Regions from separate parts of the Homo sapiens genome. Here region 2 is linked to region 1. Evidence: promoter capture Hi-C in 16 types of primary human blood cells and fetal thymus (Javierre and others, 2016). All regions are on one chromosome and are shown on one strand. The core of a region is centred on a gene start or on the middle of the fragment in contact, and the rest is flanking DNA. Distances in the headings are between cores, read along the strand shown. Region 1 holds the start of PLAT (plasminogen activator, tissue type). Region 2 has its middle 110 kb from the start of ANK1.

Region 1 (5,394 bases), core at 1,393-3,892:
AGACTCTGTCTCAAAAAAAAAAAAAAGAAAATAAAAAAAAAAAAAACAAGTTTCTTGCCCACTCTTCCTTTCTCTGAGTTTCCAGAGACATCACATCATTTCTTACCCAGCTGAGCAGAGTCCCAGCATGGCTCTCGTTCGAATACCCATCCTGCCACCTGCCCCAGTGAGAAGGGTTGGAGCAGCCCCTGTTCTCTGCCCCCGCCACCTCCATGACTCATGCATTCTGTGGGGGAGGCGCCCACTGCAGAAACAGCCAGGCTGGCTGGGAAAAGCCCTGCAGCAATTCCCCGTCCAGTTTCTCTGTGCCCACTTTGTCTCCGTGTTATCTAGGCCTGGATTTATTTCTCTTTTTTGAAAATGAAGGGCTTTGATGAAATGTTCACAGGATGTGAGGTCACCAAGATTTTTTTCCTTTTTTTCTGTTCTTTTCTTTTCCTCGAAGTGATCCCTTGACTAAAATCAAGGCTCCCATTGTCACCTTATCAGCCTGCCCATGCCTAATTCTGCATTCTCAGGCTTCCCCAGAATCTGTCCGAGGGAAACCAATCTCAATTCAGAAGGAACACAGAGGCCCCAGTTTCTAGGGCTGCAGGATATTGCTGGGTCTTAATCATTCGGGTATATTTCAGCAAAGCTCAGGGCCCCTGCTAATGATCTGCAAACCCTCTCCTCTCAGTCTCCCGTTGTTTAGCCCCTATTTATAAGTGAGTGCATGTGGTTGTTCACTTTCTGTTTCTGAGTTATTTCAGTTAGGATAATGGTCTCCAGTTTCATCCATGTTGCTCCAAAAGACAGACTTCATTGTTTTTTACGGCTTTGTCGTATTCCTCGGTGTATATGTGCATTTTCTTTATCCAGTCCTCCATTGATGGACACTTAGGTTAATTCTGTGCCTTTGCTATTGTGAATTGTGCTGTTGTGAATTGTGTGTGATAAACGTGTGAGTGCAGGTGTCTTTTTGATGTAATGATTTCTTTTTCTTTGAATAGATACTCAGTAGTGGGATTGCCGGGTCAAATGGATGTTCTATTTTTAGTTTGGGAAATCTCCATATTGTTTTCCATAGAGGTTCAGGATCCAGGATTTAAGTGCAACCATTCAGTGGAAAACCATCCTCTCAAGAGTTCAAATGAGAGTCCTCATGACCAGCACTCCCTGCTGAACGGCAATGCCCCACCCCCCAAAAAAGCCTCCATCCTCACCATCTTAGACCACATTGCAGGAAAGCAGCCCCATGCCCACCAGACAGGCCCACAGCTGCTGCTGCTCATGGGAGGTCTACCTCCCGTGCTCAGCAGGCAACCCACCCCAGTGCCCCTTTTCTACAATGACCATCAGCAGGGCTGCAGCTTCATAAAAATGTGAAAAACAGTTTGAAAGCAATGTGAAAAGCAGTTAGGTGCCTTTCAACTTCAAACTCAGCACTCATGGTTTGACAAATATGAGTATATTTAGGATCAGAATGTATGAAATCTGGCCTCTCCTGAATAGTCGGTCATCCCACAATTTCCTCTGCCAAACTTCTCTTCCCTCCCTGCGTTCTTTCTTTCACCTCTCTCTCATTTTTACAAGGTCTGGTCTCAGCCAGACATGAACCAATGATGATAGATGCTCCTGCTGAGCCCTGTGATGTGCCAGGGCCCTGACATGCGTGGCTTCTCTCTGATCCTCACGTGACCTGCAGATGCAAAAGCCAGAGCTCAGCATAGTTGAAAATCTTGATTGAGGTCATATCCCAGTTACTGGCACAGCCGGATTTAAACCTAAGACTTTCCCCTACACGACAGGGCTTTTATTTCTCAGTCATCTGAAAAGGTGTCAGCAAGGGAAATGGCTTGTCTATTTCCAGGGGCATTTTACAAGCAAATACTGAAAGGCTTCGGTGGGCTTAAGGGCTGATGGCTTTGATCGAATTTCAGGCATGTTGGCCCCAAGGCCCTGTGTATATTCCCTGGGCCCACTCAAGGGGATGCTGGAGCCGGAAAGTCCCCGGAGGCCACCTACTGCAGCCCTGCACTTTACAAAGAAGAGAAAGATTCTCCCTAAAATTACAGAACAGGGCCAAAGATGCCTACCGGAGCAAACCCCCATGGGGGCACCTCCTACCGCAGGTGAGCCCAAGGCTGGTCCTGCCTTCTCAGTGGCTACCCCCCTGAGCTCCCGCCACCACACAAAGTGTTCCAATCCTTGTGCATCCTCCAGTCCTTTTAACCTCTCATGTCCTGAGAGGCCAGAGCTACAGCCACAGATTCCAGAAGACACCCCACTCCCAGCCCCAACCTGCTGCCTTTAGAATTATAAACACTTCTTGTCATCACAGGGTCCTGAAAGTCCCTTTTAAGCCTGGGACACTAGGACTCTAAAGGAAGATGATTCTTAAGGTCCCATCCCACTTCCAAATTCCTGCGATTCAATGACATCACGGCTGTGAATAATCAGCCTGGCCCGAAGCCAGGATGGGCTGTGCTGCTTCCACCGTGAACTTCCTCCCCCTGCTTTATAAAAACAGGCCTGCCTCAGCTCCCTCATGGCCCTGTCCACTGAGCATCCTCCCGCCACACAGAAACCCGCCCAGCCGGGGCCACCGACCCCACCCCCTGCCTGGAAACTTAAAGGAGGCCGGAGCTGTGGGGAGCTCAGAGCTGAGATCCTACAGGAGTCCAGGGCTGGAGAGAAAACCTCTGCGAGGAAAGGGAAGGAGCAAGCCGTGGTAGGTCGGGTTTCTGTACCTTGGGGTCTGTCTCCTCTTCTTTCTCTTAAAAGTCTTTCCAGCAAGCTGAGCCAGTGAAGGAATGCTTTAACCAAGGGACCAACTTTGTAATTCAGGCAACTAGAGGATCCGCTAGAATCCACTCCAGAGGGGAGATGTCTGTTTGCATTTGCATGTGATTGGGATAGGCTGGAGTGTTTTGGAGGGGAGAGGCAGTCGGGGAAAGGGAGACTAGGGAGGTTGCATTCATTGGAGAAGCCTCTGCTGACAGAGTAAAGGGGAAAGTGAAAAGAACGATACAGAAAAGCCCCAAATAGCCTATGGGAGTACCTCAAGACGAGCAAGCAATAAAAGCAAAATCGGCTGCCTTGGGACACGTGCCTGTGACAGCTGGGAGGGCCCGCTGGGTCCCCTAGTTTCCTCCCTCCCCCGATGAACCCCCAGAAAGGAACTGAGGCTGTGGATGGGGCAGAGGGGGACTTACTTCCAGAGCACTATTTGCTAGGTGCTGGGAGAGAGAAGCAGGTGGCTTTCACACCCCACATTACCCCGTGGGATAGAGAAATGCCTCTGATCTCCCTAGGTGCCACCCCTACAAGTCTCCACAGGTCAGTTTGGCCCTCTGGCTTTTTGCCCAGGGTGCATCAGTCAAGTGTGCAGTCCTCCTTAAAGGACATTTTAATTACAGGGGAAAAAACTGACATTAATGTCTTTTATTCCTAAAGCACTCTGCAGGAAGCATGTGGGGTTCTCCAGATTTTCACTGTTATTATCTTTATTTTCTTAACCTCACAGGGAGGGAGAGAGGAAGGGAGGGAGGGAAGACGAAAACACGCCGAGGTCCCAGGTAACTAATGACAACTCAAGCTCAAAGAAGTGTGGTAACAAGGATGTGTTTGGTGGCCAATTGGGAATAATATGGTGGTCTCCTGTAGCTGCTTGATGACAGAAAAAATGTCGTGTGTGTGTGTATGCGTGTGCATTGCAGTCCCGGGAAGGGGTCTTGCAAATACCATTGTCAGGTGGAGTCCCCTCAAAGGTGACTTCCTAGCAGTACTTGCTGTGGCAAGAACGCTCATTCTGGGATCTAGACTCAATCCATGACGGTCAGCATGAGCTGCTGGGTGCGTGCTTCCTGTGCAGGCAGAGTCGGACTCCAGCACTGGCAGGGACACTGTGAGTATTGAGATATGAATAGCTCCATCCTGCCCACCCATTTATTCCACCTAAAATGTTCTCAAAGATGCAAGCCTCCAAGCTCTGGATCAAATGATAAAGCCCCAGATCAAAATCTCAGGAGCAAATGAAAGCTGCCCTTGTCTCCAAAATGCTCCTTCTCTGCCCGACTCCCCAAGACCAGCTTGGTTTATTTCACAATGACTCGCGTCGGATTCTCCCAGTGTCTGCGGCTCCCCCTGCTTCATCACAGGCCTGGGACAGTCCAGGCAGCCAGGGAATAGCTGGGAATAGCAGTTCCCCTTTGTTGGTTTTTGAGTTCACTGAGGCTTTGATTTCCCCCAGGGCCTGACGTTGCTGAGCAGAGCCAGCGGCCAGTAGATTTCAAAGGATTCCAAAAAACAGTCAGGCACTCCTTTGTGAACCCAAAAGTATCTGAGACAGGTCTGTCAATTTAGAAAGTTTATTTTGCCAATGTTAAGAACACACATGTGACACGGCCTCTGGAGATCCTGAGGACATATGTCCAAGGTGGCCAAGGTATGGCTTGGTTTCATACATTTCAGGGAGACATGAGACATTAATCAATGTATGTAAGATGTGCACCGGTTCGGTCTGGAAAGGCAGGACAACTCGAAGTAGGGGCTTCCAGGTCATAGGTAGATAAGAGAAGGCTTCATTCTTCTGAGTCTTTGTCAGCCTTTCACTGAATACACAATTTACATATGAGAGGGGGGCAGAGGAAGAGTCACTTATGCCTTAGTTGGCTCAGTGAATCTACTTTTTTTTTTGAGACGGAGTTTCACTCTTTTTGCCCAGGCTAGAGTGCAATGGCATGATCCCGGCTACTGCAACCTCCACCTCCCAGGTTCAAGTGATTCTCCTGCCTCAGCCTTCTGAGTAACTGGGATTACAGGCGCCTGCCACCACACCTGGTTAATTTTTGTATTTTTAGTAGAGACAGGGTTTCACCATGTTGGCCAGACTGGTCTTGAACTCGTGACCTCAGGTGATCCACCCACCTCGGCCCCCCGAAGTGCTGGGATTACAGGCATGAGCCAACATGCCTGGCCTGAATCTTCATTTTTACAAAAACAATAGGGCAGAGGAAGCAATCAGATATGCGTTTGTCTCAGGTGAGCAGAGGGATGACTTTGAGTTCTGTCCTTTGTCCTGTACCCATTTGCATTGCCAAGGTGAAGTTCAGCAGAACTGTTTTAGGGTAAAGATCTTGAAGTCCACAAGGAGTTTCCTTGTGGGTAAATTGTGAGAGAGGTATGTAGCCTTTTATCTTTGTAGCCGTCTTATGTAGGAATAAAATGGGAGGCAGGTTTGCCTCATGCAGTTCCCAGCTTGGCTTTTCCCTTTGGCTTAGTGATTTGGGGGTCTTGAGATTTATTTTCCTTTCATACCTTGGTAGTGTCACTTGAAGCCACCACGCCCGGCTAATTTTTATATTTTTAGTAGAGACAGGGTTTCACCATGTTGATCAGGCTGGTCTCGAA
Region 2 (5,394 bases), core at 1,727-4,226, 300 kb after region 1:
TGCTCTGGGTCCTGGAGACCAAGGAGTGGAGGTGTCAGCCCCTCCCGACCCCACTCCACACCCCACTCCCTCCAGCTGGCCGCGTGACCTGGTTCTGGGGACTGAATCTGAGCCTAAGTGCCTCGGCTCCTAGGCTGACTCATCTCCCTCCTCCCGACCTGAGCTGCTGTAGTCCCCACTGGGCCCTGGGCTGGGATGGGGGTTCTGTGACTCCTGTCCATCCTGTGCACAGACAGTCCAGCAGGGCCAAGTCCCAAGGAGAGTGCTCAGGCGACATCAGGGCTGGCCGCTCAACTGTGCTCTGCAGCGTGCCTCCTGAGACCCGCTGGCTGTGGCGGTTGAGTGGGACAACAAACTCAGAGCCCAGTTGGTGCCTGGCACCTGGCAGGGGCTCCAGGAGTGATTGGTGAATGACAGGCAAGACTGAAGGGCACCGAGGGAGGGGGGCAGGCACAAGACTGACTTGCGATGGGTGTCCTCACAGAAGGGGGCATCTGCCCGATGGGTTCTGGGTTCCAGCAGGGCCATTTGGGGATGGCTCTGCAGCCCATGACCCTTGGAGGACAGGGAGACCTGCAGGGGAGGGAGGGGGTCTGAGTTGATGCATGTGGAGCTTCATACATGGCTGGGTTGGGGTCAGCAAGGCCTCTTCCCCGGCTGGCATGAGGGCATCGGGGGATGAGACTAGAAGCCAGGGAGGGGCTGAGCCAGGAGCCTCGACACCCACCCCAGGGACTCTTTACTCTATTGGCGGGGAGAGGAAGCTTGTTGCTGAAGGCTTAATTCAGGGGAGAAGAGAGCGTGAGGGGTTGAATTGTGGCCCTCCCAAAAATGCTACAGTCCCAACTCCCAGAACCTGAGACCATCACCTTGGAACCAGTCACTTAACTCGGTGTGTAACATATAATTTGGAAAAAGTGTCTTTGTTGATCAAATTGAGATGTCATTAATGTGGGCCTTCATCCAATGTGACTGGTGTCCTTTTAAGGGGACATTTGGACACAGGGACAGACGCATCAAGGGAATCTGATGGGGAGATGCAGGGAGAAGACACAGGCTTCCATCTCCAAGCCAAGGAGCACCTGAGCCATGAGGAGCAAGCAGGGAGGCCTGGGACAGATGCTCCCTTGCAGTGGTGAGGAGTGACCTTGACCTTGACTTCCAGCCTCCACGCCTGGGAGACATCTCCGTTGTCCTCCCCCCGACTCCCTGACAGGCTGCCACAGCAAGGGGTGAGGTGTGTGGGGAGGTTTAGGAGGTGAGGCGGCCGCCCTACAGTGACACACAGAGACAGGGGGTTTGGCTGATGGGGTTACCAAACAAAGGAGACTCTCAGCCCAACGTGCAAGAAGCCAGTGCTCTGACACTGGGCTTTTGAGAAAAGAAAGTTTTGATTGCTGGTGGGCTAACAAGGAGACAGGAGTCCAGCTCACATCTGTCTCCCTGTGCTGGCTTTAAGGCAGGAATTTTATTAGAAAAGGTTTAGGAGTGGATTCTGGGATTAGTAGGTGATTGGTGGAGTTTTGAAAAAGGAGGTCTGGAAAGTTCTTGCACCCGTGCAGTTGTCTCTTCATGCCTCCTCATGGGTCCCATGTGCAAATTCTGGGGAAGTTAGTGTGACATATGCAGTAGAAATTCAGGCTATGACAATTAGCAGGCGGGCTCTGTGCAGACTTAGTTGGCCATATTGGTTCCAACCAATTGCAGCCGGTTTTAAAATCTCATAAGCAGAGGGAGTTTCAGTGTTTCCGGAAGTTGTCTTTTCTTATCTGCTATCCTGAAAACTCAAGCATTTCTATTAGTCATTAGGTTTTTTTTTCTAAGCTCTGGGGCACGGTTTCAGTGGGTGACAGCCAAAGCCCAGGGGACAACAGTGGAGGGCCCGGGGGAGGGGCAGTGGCCGTGGAGCGAGAGGGGAGTGATGTCTGAGGTGAGCCGGTGGACGCCAGTGTCCATGTGCAGCACAGACACGTGGCTTGGAAGATGGGACTTAGGCACCAATGATGGCTCTATGTAAGGCCGGGCCTGCAGACTCACCCTGGTGGGGAGGGACGTCCCTCAGAAGCGACTGGAAGGAAACTGGCATGGAAAGGGAATGTGGAGGAGCTCATGGGTGGAGTGGGATTAGGAAAATACCACTGCGAAATAATAAGAAATATGTACATTGTTATCTGGCTCTGGTTTCTGACATACAGCTCCTAATACTGCTGTAGAAAGGGGTGCTGGAAGAATCTTTTGTTCTAATATTTGCCCTTTGACCCTGGTTCCTGACACAGAGCTCCTAATCCCTTGGGAGTTCCTAGGTGATCGGAGCATCTTTTGTTCTAATGAGGTGACTCTTGGTGGGCTCTGGATGGCATCAGGATGGGCTGGTTGCCAGTGTGCTAAAGGTCAAAACCAAAAAAGGTTGCCTTTTTTGGAGGGGCACTGACAGGGGAGGTAAGAGAGAGCACATGGGGAGCTGGAAATGTGGGCTTGGGCTGGGGGTGCTCACAGAGGCACGTGTGTAAATTGTATACATGGGCTGGGTATGGTGGCTCACGCATGTAATCCCAGCACTTTGGGAGCTGAGGCAGGCAGATCACCTGAGGTCAGGAGCTCAAGACCAACCTGGCCAACATGGTGAAACTCCATCTCTACTAAAAATACAAAAATTAGTCCAGTGTGATGGTGGGTACCTGTAATCCCAGCTACTGGGGAGGCTGAGGCAGAAGAATCGCTTGAACCCAGAAGGCAGAGGTTGCAGTGAGCAAAGATTGAGCCACTGCACTCCAGCCTGGGCAACAGAGCAAGACTCCATCTAAAAAAGAAATTAATTAAATTAAATTAAAATAAATAAATAGTATACACGCAGGGGAGAGGACCATGAGCCGTGGCTGCAATCTATCCATAGCAGTTGAATCAGAGTCCGAATTTTCATAAGATCCTTAGGTGATGTGAGTGCATGTGCAAATTTGAGAACTGGTTTTGAAGAAAGCCTCTGAAATCTAGTGAGTAAGAAGACTGGGGGCTGTAAAGGAGAGGAAGGGGGGCTCTCTGGGAAGCCCAGGTTTCTGCCTGGGTTAACTGGGGATTGAGGAGCCAGGAGGTGACTTCTGATGGTACACTGGGCAGACTTCTTGCCTCAGTCTTCTGAGAGAGGTCAAAGCTGGAGTTATAGATCCAGGCATGTGGGTGGTAGTGGAAGCCAAGGCTAAGATCATAGAGGAAGAAGGTATAAACTGAAAAAGAGCCCAGGCAGAAGTTTTTATTAGTGAGTCCTGTAGAAAGCATTCAGGAGCTGGGAGGAGAGCAGGGAGAGTGGGGTCTCAGGAACCGGGGAGATACACCACCAGGTCAAAAGGTCCAGGGAGTCAGATCCAAGTGCGTCCGTAGGTTCCGTGGTGGCAAGAGAATTTGGAGTGCAGTAGGGCTGCACCCGGAAGTAACAGGCTGGAGGAGCTGGTGACAGGCACACCATGGGGACGCAGTGAGAGCAGAGCTCTCTGGCAGCCCGGTTTTTCTGAGGAGGTGAGAAGGAGTGGGGTCCAAAGACGTCAACAAGGGGTGGATGCAGACACATTTCAATGGTGCAGAAGGGAGGGCACTGAGCACATGCAGCCCAGGGTTTCCATTTCCCCTCCGGAGTGGAAGGCACTGTCACCACGGAGGAGTGAGGTGGTGGCCACCTTGGGTGGGAGAGTGCAGAGGAGGGAGCAGTAGGGGCCTCACCCACACGCAGGCCTGAGGACCCAGCCAGCCAACGCTGAACTTTCAAGTCAGCGTCCCCTCCCCTCCCCTCCCCTCCCTTCCCCTCCCCTCCCCTCCCCTCCTCTCCCCTCCTCTCCCCTCCTCTCCCCTCCCCTCCTCTCCCCTCCCCTCCCCTCCTCTCCCTTCCTTCTCTCTCATTCTTTTTTTTTTTTTTTTTGAGACAGAGTCTCTGTCTGTCACCCAGGCTGGAGCGCAGTGGTACCATCTTGGATCATCGCAACCTCTGCCTCCTGGGTTCAAGCGATTCTCCTGCCTCAGCCTCCCAAGTAGCTGGGATTACAGGCATGCACCATCACACCCAGCTAATTTTTGTATTTTTTTAGTAGAGATGGGGTTTCACGATGTTAGTCAGGCTGGTCTCAAACTCCTGACCTTAGGTGATCCACCCGCCTCGGCCTCTCAAAATGCTGGGATTAGAGGCAGGAGCCACCACGCCCAGCCTTACTCCAGCATTTTCTACGAATCTGGATGTAAATCCTCTTCCTGCTTTGCTGTTTTCTCTGAACACCTTGACTTATAGGCTCTTTTATCTCTTCAAATTCCACCCTGGAAAATGCAATTATGAAAAGGACAGATTGCTGTCATCGGTAAACCTTGGACAGGAAATTAGGAATCTGTGAGCTCAATATTCACCTTTACTATGAACTCCTGACATTATCTTGGTCAAGCATAGGGAGGAGTGAAAGCTCTCCTCAAATATTTGAAGGGCTATCACACAGAAGCAGGGCTTGAATAATTTCAGTGTAGTAGCGCTGGATGGCAGAGCAGGGCTGGTGTGCACACACCCGGGGAGACGGCTTGAACCCAGTGGGAAACGGACAGCAGCTCTCCTGCGGAGTGATCTGGTCTGGGAATGTGAGAGTGAGCAGAAGAAGCCTCCCATTGGTTGGGAAATGCCAGGCAGTTCCTTCTCACTCTGCAATTCTAATTTTCCATTTGTCTTTCTGTTTTATCCTCTATATTCGTGGCTCCTGGATAACCTCTTCTGAATCAAACTTGACCTGAACACCTATAGGGTATGGCACTGGACTGGATGGCTGAGACCCCACAGCCATCTGCCCTCAGAGGAGTCAGGACTGGTAGACACTGGTTGGCTCCTTCTTTCCTAAAAGGGATTAATGGTACATGGACAGAACCTTCCAGGCCCACGCTCAATTTAGGATGTTTGTCCTAAGTAGCAGTAAAAGTACAGTCTCTAAAGATTGACTGTTTTGTTTCAAATCTGAGGTCCATGGCTTAGTAGCCATTGATCTTGATCAAGTTATTCATTCTCTCTGTGCCTCAGTTTCTTAACTGTAAAATGGTGATGACAATGGCATCTGCCTCATGGAGTTGTTCTTAGGGTTAAATACGCTTAGAAGAATGCCCAGTGCTCTCATTATGTTTTAGCTATTTATATTATTTAGTTCAAGAGGCAGCTTTTATCTTGGGAAGCTTTATTAATTATTAATAATGTTTCTTTTAAAAACACAAGTTGGTCTAGTTGCATAAATGCATACACTCAGGATGGGACTGGGAACCAGATGGAAATCTTAGGGAAGAAAGCAGCAAAGATATAAAAATGGACTCCATTCCCCTTCACTTAGCAGCTAAATAAAAAGGCCCCACTGAAATACAGAATTTCCTTGAGTAATAAGCATCCCT

The links. Contacts are between HindIII fragments. The CHiCAGO score rates a contact against its expected background, and 5 or more counts as called.
Region 2: a contact is called between a fragment that was not itself captured here and the fragment with the promoter of PLAT in region 1, in 1 of 17 cell types (neutrophils). The highest score is 5.0, in neutrophils.

Annotation. Positions count from the first base shown.
Region 1 is chr8:42,204,813-42,210,206 of GRCh38, reverse strand. PLAT (plasminogen activator, tissue type) reads left to right here and starts at 2,642. Exons shown (of 14, transcript NM_000930.5): 1 at 2,642-2,713. RefSeq lists enhancers at 1,104-1,622, 1,623-2,141. The HindIII fragment of the contact is 29,641 bases long and covers 1-5,394 here.
Region 2 is chr8:41,901,814-41,907,207 of GRCh38, reverse strand. No RefSeq gene overlaps it. Among named protein-coding and RNA genes, the nearest start is that of ANK1, 110 kb to the right of the region's middle. RefSeq lists a silencer at 5,293-5,394. The HindIII fragment of the contact is 4,420 bases long and covers 767-5,186 here.